Linked DNA regions of Homo sapiens: regions 1, 2 and 3 are each linked to region 4. The links are contacts of gene promoters, found by promoter capture Hi-C in blood cells and fetal thymus (Javierre and others, 2016). All regions are on one chromosome and are shown on one strand. Each heading gives the region's core, a stretch centred on a gene start or on the middle of the fragment in contact. The rest is flanking DNA. Distances are from core to core; before and after follow the strand shown. Region 1 overlaps SUZ12 (SUZ12 polycomb repressive complex 2 subunit). Region 2 overlaps UTP6 (UTP6 small subunit processome component). Region 3 overlaps SUZ12 (SUZ12 polycomb repressive complex 2 subunit). Region 4 holds the start of ZNF207 (zinc finger protein 207).

Region 1 (3,683 bases), core at 663-3,162, 380 kb before region 4:
TTATGTAAGGGATCAGTACTGCTTTCCTTTCCCCACCATCTGTTCTGTATAGCCCTCCATAATCTGGTGTCTGTACATGTCACACTATGGAAACTATGCTCAGGAGAGTTATGAATGTCTCCTGATCAACAACTGTATTGTGTTTTGCAGTTTAAAGGTACTTCAAAAGCTTATTGATGCTTCTGTTTATTTTATCCCATGCTTATTGTTTTTTTCTATTGTTAATAGATGTTTGTGAAAATAGAAGGAGCACTAGTTCTAGTTCATGCTTGCTTTTGCTTTTCCATAGCTTCTAAAACTAACAGTGAAAATGATATATTGAAACAGTAAATTATAGATCTATACCAGATTTGTAATTGTGTATTTCATTGCTATTTGAAGTATAAAGTAATGGTTCTGTATCATTTATTGGGAAGGTTGAATTTCCATAGCTTCAAAATATTCAAATTTTTTTGCATGGATTTAGCTACGCTTTTCAAAATTTCCTTTTGATGAAGTCATTGACTAAAGCGTCATTAAAACAAAACAAAAAAAGAATTCCAAAAACCCTCCAAAATTCCTTTTTAAAGATAGGAAGGCATACCTGCTGTCATTTTATAGGTAGAACACTAAAACACAGTAAATTACCTGGCCTCCAACTTGGTAGTCTGATTTTTTTCTGCCTTGGTCTGGTGTTTTTGTGGTTTTGTTCTTACTTTTTGTGAGTTGTGAGGGGTTTTTTGTTGTTTATTTTTTGTTAGGTGTATAGACACACTTTTGGATGTCATATTTAACAGGGAAAGCATAGAGTCATGGGCCTGAATAACAGTTGAGTACAAATATTTATAAATTGGTTGAAGTAACTTTGATTTCAATGTTATATTTTAAAGTCTAGGTTATTTTACTACAGAGCATTACAATGATAAAATATTTCCTTTTTTTTTTTTTTAGCTTGTCAGCTCATTTGCAGCTTACGTTTACTGGTTTCTTCCACAAAAATGGTATGTATTTAAAAGTAAATAAAGTGGCATTTTAATAGCAAGATACCTTTGTGAATGTAAAAAAAGTGGGGCTTCTGAGTGTAAATTTATAAAATTAAGTTTAATGGAAAATATGTTGGTTCTGATGTTTTTGAACTTTAAGGTATGAAGGCTAATGATGAAATTTGTTTTTGGTGGATGGGGGTGCAGAGTGAAGGCTGGAGTGCAATGTTATGATCTTGGCTGACTGCAGCCTCCACCTCCCGGGTTCAAGCGATTCTCCTGCCTCAGCCTCCTGAGTAGCTGGGATTACAGGCACGTGCCCCATGCCTGGCTAATTTTTTGTATTTTTAGTAGAGACAGGGTCTCACCATGCTGGCCAGGCTGGTCTTGAACTCCTGACCTCGTGATCCACCCGCCTTGGCCTCCCAAGGGGGCGTGAGCCACCACGCCTGGCTAATGATGAAGATTTTAACAAATTGTCTTAGAACTTCAATAGGTAAAGAATCTCCTCAGTAGAACCTTTTATGCATAAACATTTTGAATTAATGATACTGTATCATGTTTTAAAAAAACACAGTAAAACAACTGAAATAACCACTATTACCAATGGCATATATTAATATTTTAGATATTATTCAAAGGAAATTATATGGTATATTACTCCAGTAAAAGCTCAAAGCATGCTGGAAAGAATTAGAGTTGTTTTAAAAATGGAAAAATACGGCCAGGCGCAGTGGCTCACGCCTGTAATCCCAACATTTTGGGAGGCTGAGGCGGGTGTATCATGAGGTCAGGAGTTCAGGATGTTCAGGAGTTCAGGAGTTCAGCTGGCCAATATGATGAAACCCCATCTCTACTAAAAATATAAACATTAGCCAGGCGTGGTGGTGGGTGCCTGTAGTCCCAGTTACTTGGGAGACTTAGGCAGAAGAATCACTTGAACCTGAGAGTCGGAGGTTGCAATGAGCTGAGATTGCGTTACTGCACTCCAGCCTGGGCGACAGAGCGAGACTCCATCTCAAAAAAAAAAAAAAAGGGAAAATCACTTATCAGCTTATCCATCATAAGTCTGTGTATATGGCATATCTTTTTATTATGCAATGGAATAAAACCATTATTAGAAACATGCCAGGTTGGTTGTCTTGGTATCGTTTAGTAAGAAACAAAGATTGAAAATGAGTCCTGGTGGGCCGGGCACGGTGGCTCACGCCTGTAATCCCAGCACTTTGGGAGGCTGAGGCGGGTGGATCACAAGGTCAGGAGATCGAGACTATCCTGGCTAACATGGTGAAACCCCGTCTCTACTAAAATACAAAAAAACTAGCTGGGTGTCGTGGTGCACACCTGTAGTGTCACCAGTGGCACTCCAGCCTGGTGACAGAGCGAGACTCTGTCTAAAAAAAAAGAAAAAGAAAATGAGTCCTGGCCTGGTGGCTCATGTCTGTAATCTCAGCATTTTGGGAGGCTGAGGTGGGAAGATGACTTGAGGCCAGGACTTCAAGACCAGCCTGGGCAACACAGACCCCATCTCTACAAAAATTAGCCAGGTATGGTGGTATGTCCTGTAGTTCTAGGTACTTGGAAGTCCAAGATGGCAGGATGGCGTAAGCTCAGGAATTCAAGGTTACAGTGAGCTATGATTGCACAACTCTACTCCAGGCTGGGCAACAGAGTGAGACCTTGTCTCCAAAAAATCCCAAATATTAGACTGGGCGTGGTGGCTCACAGCTATAACGTCAACACCTTGGGAGGCTGAGATGGAAGAATAGCTTGAGGCTTGCCTGGGCAACATAGGGAGAACCTGTCTGTAAGAAGTAAAAAAAGATTAACTGGGCACAGTGGCACATGCCTGTAGTCCCAGCTATTCTGTAGTCTCAGCTACTCAGGAGGCTGAGGTGGGAGGATTGCTTGAGTCTTGGAGGTTGAGGCTGCAGTGAGCCAAGATCACACCACTGTACTCCAGCCTGAGTGACAGAGTGAGACACTGTCTAAAAAAGACAAAAAGACAACCTTGCCAATTGGCCAATTGTCAAAATGCTCTAATATAACCATTTTTTAATGACTCTTTGGGGGTTGTTTGTTTGTTTAGACAGGGTCTTGCTCGTGTCACCCAGGCTGGAGTGCAGTGGTGTGATCAACTCCTGGGCTCAAGTGATCCTCCTGCCTCAGCCTCCTGAGTAGCTGGAACTACAGGCGTTCCCACCATGCCTGGCTAATTAAAAAAAATTTTTTTTGTTAAGATGGAATCTCACTACATTTCCCAGGCTGGTCTCAAACTCCTGGTCTCAAGTGATCCTCTCACCTCAGTCTCCCAAAGTGCGGGGATTACAGGTGTGAGCCACTGAGACTGGCCCTAGTTAGGGTTTTTATGTAAGAAATTTGAAATCTCGTATTTGTATTAGCAGCTAATGTAACTTCTAGTTTTTACCTTAGATCTGGTCTATTTTTTATATAGAAGTAACCTGGGTAGCATTACGGTTTTTGTTTTCCTTAAATTATTTGTAATGGTCTGCTTAGAGTCCTTATTTCTAGTCATCGTATTTTGTTTTCTGTGGTACTTCTGACGTGTCTAGACTTTAATTCTTCAGAAACTTATAATTTGAATTTTATACATTCATTAGCCCTTTGTTCTCAGGGACCTGTGTAGAACACATAGTTTATCCATCACTGAAATTTTTGGAAAGTAGTCATATTAAGCTTTTTTCCTATCTTCATGACAAA
Region 2 (3,898 bases), core at 277-2,776, 490 kb before region 4:
CCGTCTCCCAGGTTCAAGCAATTCTCCTGCCTCAGCCTCCCAAGCAGCTGGGATTACAGGCACCCACCACCACACCTGGCTAATTTTTGTATTTTTAGTAGAGACGGGGTTTCACCATGTTGGCCAGGCTAGTCTCAAACTCCTGACCTCAGGTGATCCGCCTGCCTCAGCCTTCCCAAAGTGCTGGGATTACAGGCGTTGAGTCACCATGCCTGGCCACTTTCTCCTTCATTTTAACTGGCTCTTAGGTCGAGATTAGAGATACTCATGCTTGACCTGGGATAATTTTAAAAAAACCCAGTCGTATGCTATCCATGTATTTTGGGAAACATTTAGGACCTGTGGAAGATCGGGCCTCAACATTAAATCAGCAATTCTCTTTACTGGAATCAGATTAGCACATCAAACTGAGCAGTGTCATGCACCTATAATCCCAGCTACTCAGGAGTCTGAGGTGAGAAGGTCACTTGAGTCCAGGAGTTCAAGACCAGCCAGGGCAACAGAGCAAGACCCAGTCTCAATCATAAAAATTTTTTAATTTTTAAAAAGATTTAACAAGTTAACATAAAATTAAAGTGTGTCTCAAAACCAGACAGCCATCTTGTCTGCCATCACTGAGCAAATTACAGATGGACTCAATACAAATTTGCCCACGGGGCTTGCTTGCAATACTATTTCACAAAGCTGACTGTATTCTTCATCTTCATAAATGGCCAGTCTGATGCATAGCATGTTTAGCTACAAATGCCTCTGCTGACTCTCCCTGCAACATTTTCATCGCTCGCCAGTAGATCTGTCCACAGTTCTCAGGTCTACCAAGGGGGTGGTTCAATTCTTCTTTCATATAATCCATCCAAAGATCTTTTAAAAAAAAAACATACAATTAGATAACTGACAGAGTGTTATTAGGTAACCTTATTAAATATCAATTCAACTCAAGATTTCTAAGAAACTTAACTTCTCATTGTTACTTCCCTAGGACGCTTTGTTTAACAATACCTCTCTTAGCTTCTTTAAAGTATAGTGGCAGGTTTTGGTTTGTTTTTGTGTGTTTTTTTCTTTTTTGAGACAGGGTCTCACTGTGTTGCCCCGGCTAGAGTGTAGTAGCGGGAACATGGCTTACTACAGTCTCAACCTCCTGAGTTCAAGTGACCCTCCTGCCTCAGCCTCCAGGGCAGCTGGGAACACAGGCACACCACCATATTAGGCTAATTTTTTTATTTTTTGTAGAAACAGGGTTTCACTATATTGCCCAGGCTAGTCTTGAACTCCTGGGCTCAAGCAATCCTTCTACCTTGGCCTTCCAAAGTGCTGGGATTACAGGCGTGAGCCACTGTGCCTCATCAGTTTTGTTTTTTTGTTTTTTGTTTTTTTTCCCAGTAGAAAACCTTCACATCAATCATAAAAGTCTATTTTATTCAATGAACTCAAAAATACTAAACTTTTTGGCTAGGCACAGTGGTTCACACCTGTAATCCCGGCACTTTGGGAGGCCAAGGCGGGCGGATCACCTGAGGTCAAGAGTTCAAGACCAGCCTAGCCAGCATGGCGAAACTCCATCTCGACTGAAAATACAAAAATTAGCCGAGCATGGTGGCACGCGTGCCTGTACTCCCAGCTACTTGGGAGGCTGAGGCACGAGAATCGCTTGAATCTGGGAGGCAGAGATTGCAGTGAGGCAAGATTGCGCCACTGCACTCCAGCCTGGGTGACAGAGTGAGACTCTGTCTCAAAACAAAATAAAAATAAACAAATCAATGTTTATGAGTTCACAAAGTCCACAGATTTTACATGACATACCTATACCCAGAAGTATGTTGTACAAGTCCTACAAATGAGGGCAATGTGGAGATAGTCAACAACAGACGCCAATTAGCATCTCACGTTTACCCCTTTCATGTAACTCTAAATACATTTTTTTTAAGAAAACAAAACCATGCAAATCTTTCTCTAATCCAGAGGGGGTGTTTTTGGTTTTTGTTTTTGAGACAGGATCTCATTGTATTGCCCAGGCTGGAGTACAATGGTGGCATCACAGTCATTGCAGCCTCAACATCCTGGGGCCCAAACAATCCTCGCACCTCAGCCTGCTGTGTAGCTGGGACCACAAGCATGCACCACCATACCCAGTTACTTTTTTTTTTTTATTGTTTGTAGAGATGGGGATCTAAATATGTTGCCCAGGCTGGTCTCAGGCTCCTGAGAAATCTAGGGTTCTTAACAGACGACCCATGGACCCCTGAACTTATGATCCTGAAATGATAGTATACACAAAGCAAGTGAGGAGGCAGAGGAAGGAAACAAGTTTTATTTTAAAAGAGGGTTATGATGCAAATCAAAAAACTAAGAAACAGTTTTGTTTGTTTGTTTGTTTGTTTTTGAGACGGAGTTTCACTGTTGTTGCCCAGGCTGGAGTGCAATGGTATAATCTCAGCTCACTGCAACCTCCGTCTCCCAGGCTCAAGCGATTCTCCTGCCTCAGCCTCCCAGGCAGGGATTACAGGTGCGCACCACCATGTCCAGCTAATTTTTATTTTAGTAGAGACGGGGTTTCACCATATTGGCCAGGCTGGTCTCGAACTCCTGACCTCAGGTGATCCGCCTGCCTTGGCCTCCCAAAGTGCTGGGATTACAGGCATGAGCCACTGTACTCAGCCAAGAAACACTGTTCTAACCATACTAATTGGTCACAAATTAAGGGTTTACTTACCAGAATCTGCGGATCCAAACTCTCTCAAAGCTCTCTCATAATATTCTCTTATGTTCGCCATATTGCAGGATTCCTGACAAAGATAGACAATCTTGTCTCAAAAGCCTGATTTATAACATAACAAATTCATTCCAACCATATTGTTAAGCAGCTACTGTCTGTCAGGTATTTGAAGGGAAGAGTTTAACATGAACACAACTTGGCTCTCAACTTTTCTAGGAAAAAAATCAAAGCCACTCAACAGAGTGAAGTACATATGTGAAACATAAAAGCACTTTGCTGTAGTAGCATGGAGAAAAGTGCTATTAGAAAAAAGTGGGGGACATGGGCAGCTTCACAGAAAACAGTATTTGAAAGTCTTGAGGAATGAGTGGGAATTAAATAAAGAAACAGCGAAGGTTCTATTCGCTTTGAGTAAGGATTTCTTCCTTTTGAATATCTGGGCTCTGGTACTTATTTGTTATATCCACCTTAAAATAAATACTAGTTATATGACCTTCAGCAAGTTTTTGAACCCTTTGACCTTAAACATTTCCTCACCTATAAAACAAGCTTTAATATCTCTTAGCACAACTATAAGTATTAGATTAAAATGCTGATGAATTATGTACCTAGCAGAATAGCTGTAACTAACTTTACAACCAAAAACTGCTCATTCTCCACCTATTTTTAAAAATGTATTCTTGCCGGGCACGGTGGCTCACACGGTCAGGAGATCGAGACCATCCTGGCTACAACAGTGAAACCCCGTCTCTACTGAAAATACAAAAAATTAGCCAGGCGTGGTGGCGGGTGCCTGTAGTCCCAGCTACTCAGGAGGCTGAGGCAGGAGAACGGCGTGAACCTAGGAGGTGGAGCTTGCAGTGAGCCGAGATCGCGCCACTACACTCCAGCCTGGGCGACAGAGCGAGACTCTGTCTCAAAAAAAAAAAAAAAAAAAAGTATTCTTGCCGGGTGCAGTGGCTCATGCCTGTAATCCCAGTACTTTGGGAGGCCAAGGCAGGCAGATCACAAGGTCAGGAGTTGAGACCAGCCTGGCCAACGTGGTGAAACCAGTCTCTACAAAAAATACAAAAATTAGGGCCAGGCGCGGTGGCTCACACCTGTAATCCCAGCACTTTGGGAGGCTGAGGCAAGGCAGGTGGATCACAAGGTCAGGAGTTCAAGACCAGCCTGGTCAACATGGTG
Region 3 (3,946 bases), core at 1,446-3,945, 400 kb before region 4:
CTGAGCCACAGCGCCCGGCCTTGGTGGTGGTCTTATTGAAGGGGAAACACTTTTGAAATCAATAGGATGAAGGTTTTTTAAAAACAATGAAGTCTTAAATCATTAGATTTTAAAGTGGGGTCTGGAGGTGGAAGACAGCTTATTTTTGCTGTGTAACATTTAGTACTTAACCATACATAATTATCAATGCAAGTTTTTTGTCCTAGGTGCAAGATTATATTTATTTGAGAGTATCAGGTGAACAAGTTTACATTTAAAGGCGAGAATTGTGTTAAGCATTTGGTATTGTCATTATAGTTTTAGTAAAACCATCAAGTTATCTCGATAGAGTTTGAAACTAAGCTCTTTGGTGGACTGCTACTGTTTATTAAGTAGGTATCACATTTCTATAGCAAGACATAGTTGAGTTGTGTAAATCTTGTATTTTGAAGGATTGAATTGTGAAAATTATTTGTCTTTTGGCAATCTTTCTGAATAGAGAGCGTGCATGAGCAAGTTTGCATTGCAGTTAATAGGTGAAAATTGCTGAGCACCTAAGTAACTAAAAAGGAGGTGATGAATTAGGTTACAGAATTAGTTTTGTCCACCCTTTACCTGTCTACTCCATTATTTGATTTTTGCCAGCATTCAGCATGCTTTTTCTGTAAAGGACCAGTAAATAGTAATTATTTTAGGCTTTGCGGCCAGGGTGCAAAATTGAGGATATTATGTAGGTACTTAATTTTAAAAGAAAGAAAAAATTTACAGTTTTTTAAAATTTCAGTCCGAAATGTCAATCTGTAAATTTTTTGTTGATTAAAATACAACAATATAAGATAGAACATTTTGTAATACAGGCCTACAAATGAGAAATGAGAATTTTATTTTTGTGAGGGTAGGGGAGATAACATTTAGCTGAATTGGGGTTCAGAGTTAGTGTTTTCTGTAATCAAATCGATTGCTAATGTTTATCTGTAAAAACCGTTCTTACCTTCCGGGCTGTACAAAAACAGGCGATAGGCCAGATTTGACCATGGTCCATAGTTTCCCCACCCTTGATTTATTCTATAAAACTAGTAGAATTCGACTAACTGTTTTGTTTCATCAAAGCTTTTTTTTTTTTGAGACAGAGTCTTGCTCTGTCGTCTAGGCTGGAGTGCCGTGGCGCAATTTCGGCTCACTGCAGTCTTCGCCTCCCAAGTTCAAGCAATTCTGCCTCAGCCTCCTGAGTAGCTGGGATTACAGGCGTGTGGCACTACACCCAGCTAATTTTTGTATTTTTAGTAGAGACAGGGTTTCACCATGTTGGTCAGGCTGGTCTCAAACTCCTGACCTCATGATCCGCCTGCCTTGGCCTCCCAAAGTGCTGGGATTACAGTCGTGAGCCACCGTGCCTGGCCATCAAAGCATTTTTAATATAGAAGGTCAGTTGAGTTGCTGCCTAGGATGCAACCTGATCTTAATTTACAAAGTAATTAAATTATTATAAAATAAGTTTGCATTCATAGATTAAAAAGTACACATTTATTTTATTATTATTATTTTTTTTTGAGATGGAGTTTCGCTCTTGTTGCCCAGGCTGGAGTGCAATGGTGCAATCTTGGCTCACTGCCACTTCCACCTCCTGGGTTCAAGTGATTCTCCTGCCTCAGCCTCCCGAGTAGCTGGGATTACAGGCATGCGCCACCATGCCTGGCTCATTTTGTATTTTTAGGAGAGATGGGGTTTCTCCATGTTGGTCAGGCTGGTCTCGAACTCCCGACCTCAGGTGATCTGCCCACCTCGGACTCCCAAAGTGCTGGGATTACAGGTGTGAAACACCACGTCCTGCTAAAAAGTACACATTTAAAATCTAAGTTCCATTTTCCCGTCATGTTTATTAATTTGTCCCATTGCAGGATATGTTTCTGTTGTCCGCATGGGTAGAGATAATTTTAAAAGCTTGGTTAAGTAAGAACTGATTTTCTTAATTATTGCCCTTTAGGTTAAAAAAAAAAAGTCTGGGGAATTTTTAAGCAATCTGCCAGCCAAGAAGCAAATTTAAGTCCCACCTAGTTTAGTTCCTACAGAAATGGGTAGGAATAGGCTAGGCATGGTGTTTCAGACCTGTAATTTCAGCATTTCGGGAGACTGAGTTAGGAGGATTGCTTGTGTAACATTTAGTACTTAACCTTACGTAATTATGAATGCAAGTTTTTTGTCCTGGGTGCAAGATTATATTTATTTGAGCGTATCAAGTGAACAAGTTTACATTTAAAGGCGAGAGTTATAGGTCAGCCCTGGCAACATAGTGAGACCCTATATCTACAAAAATTTTAAAAAATTAGCTGGGCGTGGTGGCTCATGACTATAGTCCCAAATACTCAGGAGGCTGAGGCAGGAGGATCACCTGAGCCCAGAAGTTCGAAGGTTGCTATGAATGTGCCGGTGCACTCTAGCCTGGGCAGTAGAGGGAGATGGTGTCTCAAAAAAAAAAAAAAAAAAAAAAAGTATGGGAATCATTTAATCATCTTGTTAGATGCCTGATCTTATTACTTATTAGGACTAATTATTAAGAAATTAAAGCACAACTCATTTGCTGTTGTCTTCAGCGTAGTTGGTGACTTTGGAAGGTGGCAGATTTAGCCCAGTGATTGTCGTTTCTCAAAATGTTTTCAGAACTCGTTTTTTACTATTACAACAACATAATATCCATTGTTGGAATAAGCATATCACTCCCTTTAAAGTCATACTCTCAGTCGTGATATTAATTCTGGTATATTTATTAAAGTCAGCTTGTGCTTTACTCTTTCTAGAAGTATTCAACTTCTATAGGCTAACACTGCCCCAACAAAGTAAAAATATAGGTCACGAGAAGGGCATCTTTTATTGAATCCATTTTGCTAGATTTCGTGTGAGCTGTTTCTGAAGTCTCCCAAGAAAATTTTCTGAAATTTCTTGAATTTTTAAATATGCTCCTTTTCGATGACCTTTTGATAATTATTTCCTTCTTTAAATCTGACCTACAGTAACATTACCTTTCTAAAGAACAGAAATCCTTGGTGTTGGGGGAGGAGCAGCTTTTATATAGTTGCTTATGAGGTTGGTTTTGTTTTTTTCCTAAGGAAGGCTGGGTTGCTTTTGTGATCTTATCTATTTCAAATGGTTAATCAATTCTATTCACTTCTCCTGTATACAGCTTCATAAAGGTAGAAGAGATGAACCTTAGAACGTACAGTCTTTTTCTGCAGACAGAATTTCTTAATCATTACATAAACATTATTCGGAAAAGTTTTCAGTAGTTTCATGGCCCTCCTCAATAGTAACTTTCAGTATTTATACTGAATAGCTCTTTGCAACTAGCCTAAAAGAGTCCTTTATTTTTGTTCTTTTTTCTCTCTTATCTGTGGAGATTGAAAATATATTGCCATCCTTCAGAAAGCGCTTCTTACTATACTCTATTGGATGAAACTTTAATATTGAAGTTTTCAGTAACTCTAAAGGTAAAGAGAGAAGCTTTTTTTCCCTTAAGATCTTTACTATGGAGGCTCTTCTCATTCACTTGAAATATAGATTGTATCAATTCTGCTCTAATATCAGTAGTTTACTATATTTACATTAACATTTCTCTACTGATAATTTTTACAGTAGTTGAATACAATAAATAGCTCTTTTTTGGCCAGGCATGGTGGCTCACACCTTTAATCCTAGCACTTTGGGAGACAGGGGTGGATAGATCACCTGAGGTGAGGAGTTCAAGACCAGCCTGACCAACATGGTGAAACCCTGTCTCTACAAAATGCAAAAATTAGCCAGGCGTGGTGGTGCACACCTGTAGTCCCAGCTACTCGGGAGGCTGAGGCAGGAGAATTGCCTGAACCCGGGAGGTGGAGGTTGCAGTGAGCCGAGATCACGTCATTGTACTCCAGCCTGGGCAACAAGAGTGACACTCCCATCTCAAAAACAAAACAAACAAAAACAAACAAAC
Region 4 (3,587 bases), core at 772-3,271:
GCCTCCGGAGTAGCTGGGATTACAGGCGTGCCCCACCACGCCTGGCTAATTTTTTTTTGGTATTTTTAGTAAAGACCGGGTTTCACCATGTTGGCCAGGCTGGTCTTCAACTCCTGATCTCAGGTGATCCACCCGCCTCAGCCTCCCACAGTGCTGGGATTACAGGTGTGAGCCACTGCGCACAGCCCAAACTGATCCTTTAAAATTCAAATTTAATTCAGCTCCACACATACTTTGTGTTTTGGGGCAAATTATTCCAGCTCTCTTAAGTCTCTTTTATCTCATCTCTATTAACAAGTTGACAATAATGGCTCCTACCCCAGAGGCTGAGACAAATAATGTTAAAACTCACTACAATGCTTGGCACACGGTAGGTGCTCCATGGATGTCTGCTATTATTTTTTGCTTTTAATAGTAACATAATTTACATTACTAGTTATTATTATATGCTAAGCTCTGTTTTAAGTGCAGCCAAGATGAAGTTTAACTGCCTTGCCCAAAGTCAGGCAGCTAAGCAGTGGCACTGGTGGACTATGAACCCAAGCACTGGACTTTTAACCACCTCTCACTTGCATGATCCTCCAGTTGCCCTCTTAGAACCACTGTGCCTTCTCAGAGACTTCAGCTGAAATCCAACTTCTGAGAATGCTTCTAGGGTTCGCCAGAACCCGCCTTTGCTAGCCTCCCTAGGATTATCTCTTGTGACCAGCACCTTCACTGACAGCTCCAGTCTTTTTTTTTTTTTTTTGAGACGGAGTCTCACTCTGTCACCCAGGCTGGAATGCAATGGCGAGATCTCGGCTCACTGCAACCTTCACCTCCCAGGTCCAAGTGATTCTCCTGCCTCATTCTCCCGAGTAGCTGAGGTTACAGGCGCCTGCCACTACGCCTGGCTAATTTTTGTATTTTTAGTAGAGACAGGGTTTCACCATGTCGGCCAGGCTGGTCTCGAACTCCTGACCTCAAGTGATCCGCCTGCCTCGGCCTTGGCCCATAGTGTTGGGATTACTGGCGTGAGCAACCGCGCCCGGCTATCAGCTCCAGTCTTACCACGATTAGTTTTTCACGTGCCCAGCCTCAAAGACTTAAACTCTTTGCTCCCTTACGGAGATACCCTTTCCTTCACCTTGCTTGCTCCCGTTGACTCCTCAAGAAACCTTTCTTATGTCGGGCGCAGCGGCTCAAGCCTGCAATCCAGCACTTTGGGAGGCCGAGGCGGGCGGATCACTTGAGCCCAGGAGTTCGAGACCAGCCTCGCTAACATGGTGAAACCCCATTCTACTAAAAATACAAAAATTAGCCGGGCTTGGTGGCGCGGGCCTGCAGTCCCAGCTACTCGGGAGGCTGAGGTAGGAGAATCGCTTGAACCCGGGAGACGGAGGTTGCAGTGAGCAGAGATCGCGCCGCTGCACTCCAGCCTGGGAGACAGAGCGAGACTTGGTCTCAGAAAAATAAAACAAAACAAAGAAAAACAAAACTTTACTTGACAACCCAACGACCACTACCACTACAGCCGCCCTAGGACTCCCGCTCTCTGAGGTCCTACAGCACTTCGCATTTCCCTCAACGCCGCACTGAGAACTCTGCATTGTGTACTCGTCTGTCACCAATCTGCGAGTTACAAAGCAGAGACTAACTTATTTGGTTTAGCATTTAATAGGCACATAATCAACATTTACTGTTCAATTGAAACAAAATTAAAATTGGGCGCTGTCTCTATCTTTATTTGTGATCGGCCCTAACTGCACTGGCAATCTTTTCCGTTTTTTTGTTTTCTGTTTTCCATTCGCATGCCCCTTAGCGTACCTGGGGCTCCGGCTCCTTTACAAATGAAACCCAAAGTGCTCCGCAAGCACAGCCAGCGAAAGCGAAAAACTCTGAAACGGACAAGATGGCTGCCACCTCTTCGCGCCTCTTAGTCCCACCCACTCAGGGCGGAGGTCTGCGTCATGTGACCCTCCCCTTCTTGGCTCCGCCTCCTACCGCAGTGCTTGACGGGAGGCGGAGCGGGGAACGAGGCCGTCGGCCATTTTGTGTCTGCTTCCTGTGGGACGTGGTGGTAGCCGTTGGGTTGGGAAAGTGAGGGATTTTTGGCCTCGTTTCTCCTGCTTCTTTTCTCCTCCCTTTTACTTTGCCGGTAGAACACAGTTATGGGTCGCAAGAAGAAGAAGCAGCTGAAGCCGTGGTGCTGGTATCCTTTGTCGGTTTGAAGTCGAGGTCGCGTTGGGGTGCCGGTTGTTGGGGCCTGGGACTAGGAGGCCTGGATTTGGCTTACGGCGTGGAGCGTTTGTATTTAGGCGTCTGCGTGGGTGGCCTGGTGGCTGGGATTGGACTTGGGAAGGCTTCTAGGAAAATGGGGTTCCGAGGTCGACAGGCTTTTGCAGTTGTGGGTCGTGTGACTCTGTGACTCAGGAGGATCTTGTTCGGTGCGAATTTTGGACTCCGGGAGGCGGCCTGGACCCCTCCGCCAGGGACAGTGTCCCCTAGGGACTATTCAGCCACCTTCCGTTGTTTTGGTGACGATTCAACAAGGGACTTTTCTTCGAGTGCGATAGGCTTATTACTTTCATGGAGGGTTGGGGACAGCTTCACAGTCTGTCACCCACTTTTTCTGTTTTTATTTACTTTATGTGTGTTTTGTGTTTATTTTTTCGAATTGGCGGTTTAGTAAAGAACCAAGTTAGTCAACCCTGGTTTCGAACCTTTTTTTTTTTTTTTTTCTTTTCGGGGCGGGAGGAGAACTAGCTTCCGTGTCTCACCCAGAGGCGCCTTAATCTTCAGGAAGCGTTCTCACAGGGCGGAGTTTCTGTTACCCAACTTTGTAGGACTAAAAAGTGCCTATCTTATTAGGAAAACTCTTACTACAGTGTGGTATTAATGCTTTTTCTGGAAGCGTTAATATTCTTTACATTAAAATTGATTTTATTTACTGTTTTGTACGTAAAGGCGGCTTGTTACAGTACTGCGTTTATGTAACAGTTTTAAAAATAGCTTAAATACGGTTACGAATTTTGTAATGTGATTTTAGGAAAATCTGAGTAGTGAGGTAAGAATTCTGTTTTATTGATGTAAGAATTCTGCTTTATTGATTTTATTGATCTGTGAATTTAAATACATTGCTTGGCAACATAAATTCATACGGAATTGGAAACAACTTTATGGATTGTTCATTCGAAATTATGTGATTATTGTTCACCATATAGTTACTCTTAGATTCTAAATATTGCTAAATTCCTAATCCAGTTATTGCTATCGTCTTCATATCTAGTGAAGTAATTGTCTTGACAGAACCTTAGGGATTTCTTAACTGAACTCTTTCCTGTCCTCAGTGTGCATTTGTAAATGTTGAAATATTTATAACAAAAGTTTCACCGACATCTCTGTTAAACACAGGAATTTGACAAAGTATATTGCTGATTATTGAGATGTGTTTTTTGGGGTGGTGAAGAGAGCTGGCCTTCTAGGAAATTGAAAATACTGAAATAACATGGCAAGTGTAGTCCCTAATTGTGTAATAAATATAAAAAGCAGAGTTTCTATACAGTACCATTTTGGTTTTAGCTGTTCCCATATTGTAATGTTATCCA

The links. Contacts are between HindIII fragments. The CHiCAGO score rates a contact against its expected background, and 5 or more counts as called.
Region 1: a fragment that was not itself captured here is called in contact with the fragment with the promoter of ZNF207 in region 4 in 1 of 17 cell types (erythroblasts); the score reaches 5.9 in erythroblasts.
Region 2: a contact is called between a fragment that was not itself captured here and the fragment with the promoter of ZNF207 in region 4, in 2 of 17 cell types (activated CD4 T cells and total CD4 T cells). The highest score is 5.1, in activated CD4 T cells.
Region 3: a fragment that was not itself captured here is called in contact with the fragment with the promoter of ZNF207 in region 4 in 2 of 17 cell types (erythroblasts and fetal thymus); the score reaches 12.8 in erythroblasts.

The regions. Positions count from the first base shown.
Region 1 is chr17:31,965,217-31,968,899 of GRCh38, forward strand. SUZ12 (SUZ12 polycomb repressive complex 2 subunit) reads left to right here. Exons shown (of 16, transcript NM_015355.4): 5 at 931-980. Among named protein-coding and RNA genes, the nearest start is that of SUZ12, 30 kb to the left of the region's middle. The HindIII fragment of the contact is 3,490 bases long and covers 168-3,657 here.
Region 2 is chr17:31,862,656-31,866,553 of GRCh38, forward strand. It overlaps UTP6 (UTP6 small subunit processome component), which reads right to left. Exons shown (of 19, transcript NM_018428.3): 18 at 2,711-2,783; 19 at 1-861. The coding sequence ends at 704. Among named protein-coding and RNA genes, the nearest start is that of COPRS, 5.4 kb to the left of the region's middle. The HindIII fragment of the contact is 3,468 bases long and covers 1-3,260 here.
Region 3 is chr17:31,942,617-31,946,562 of GRCh38, forward strand. All of the region lies in intron 3 of SUZ12 (SUZ12 polycomb repressive complex 2 subunit), which reads left to right. Among named protein-coding and RNA genes, the nearest start is that of SUZ12, 7.6 kb to the left of the region's middle. The HindIII fragment of the contact is 1,554 bases long and covers 1,919-3,472 here.
Region 4 is chr17:32,348,136-32,351,722 of GRCh38, forward strand. It overlaps ZNF207 (zinc finger protein 207), which reads left to right and starts at 2,022. Exons shown (of 12, transcript NM_001098507.2): 1 at 2,022-2,191. The coding sequence starts at 2,151. It overlaps MIR632 (microRNA 632), which reads left to right and starts at 1,974; the gene lies at 1,974-2,067. It also overlaps a transcript of C17orf75 not described here. RefSeq lists enhancers at 1,472-1,591, 1,762-2,111. The HindIII fragment of the contact is 13,651 bases long and covers 1-3,587 here.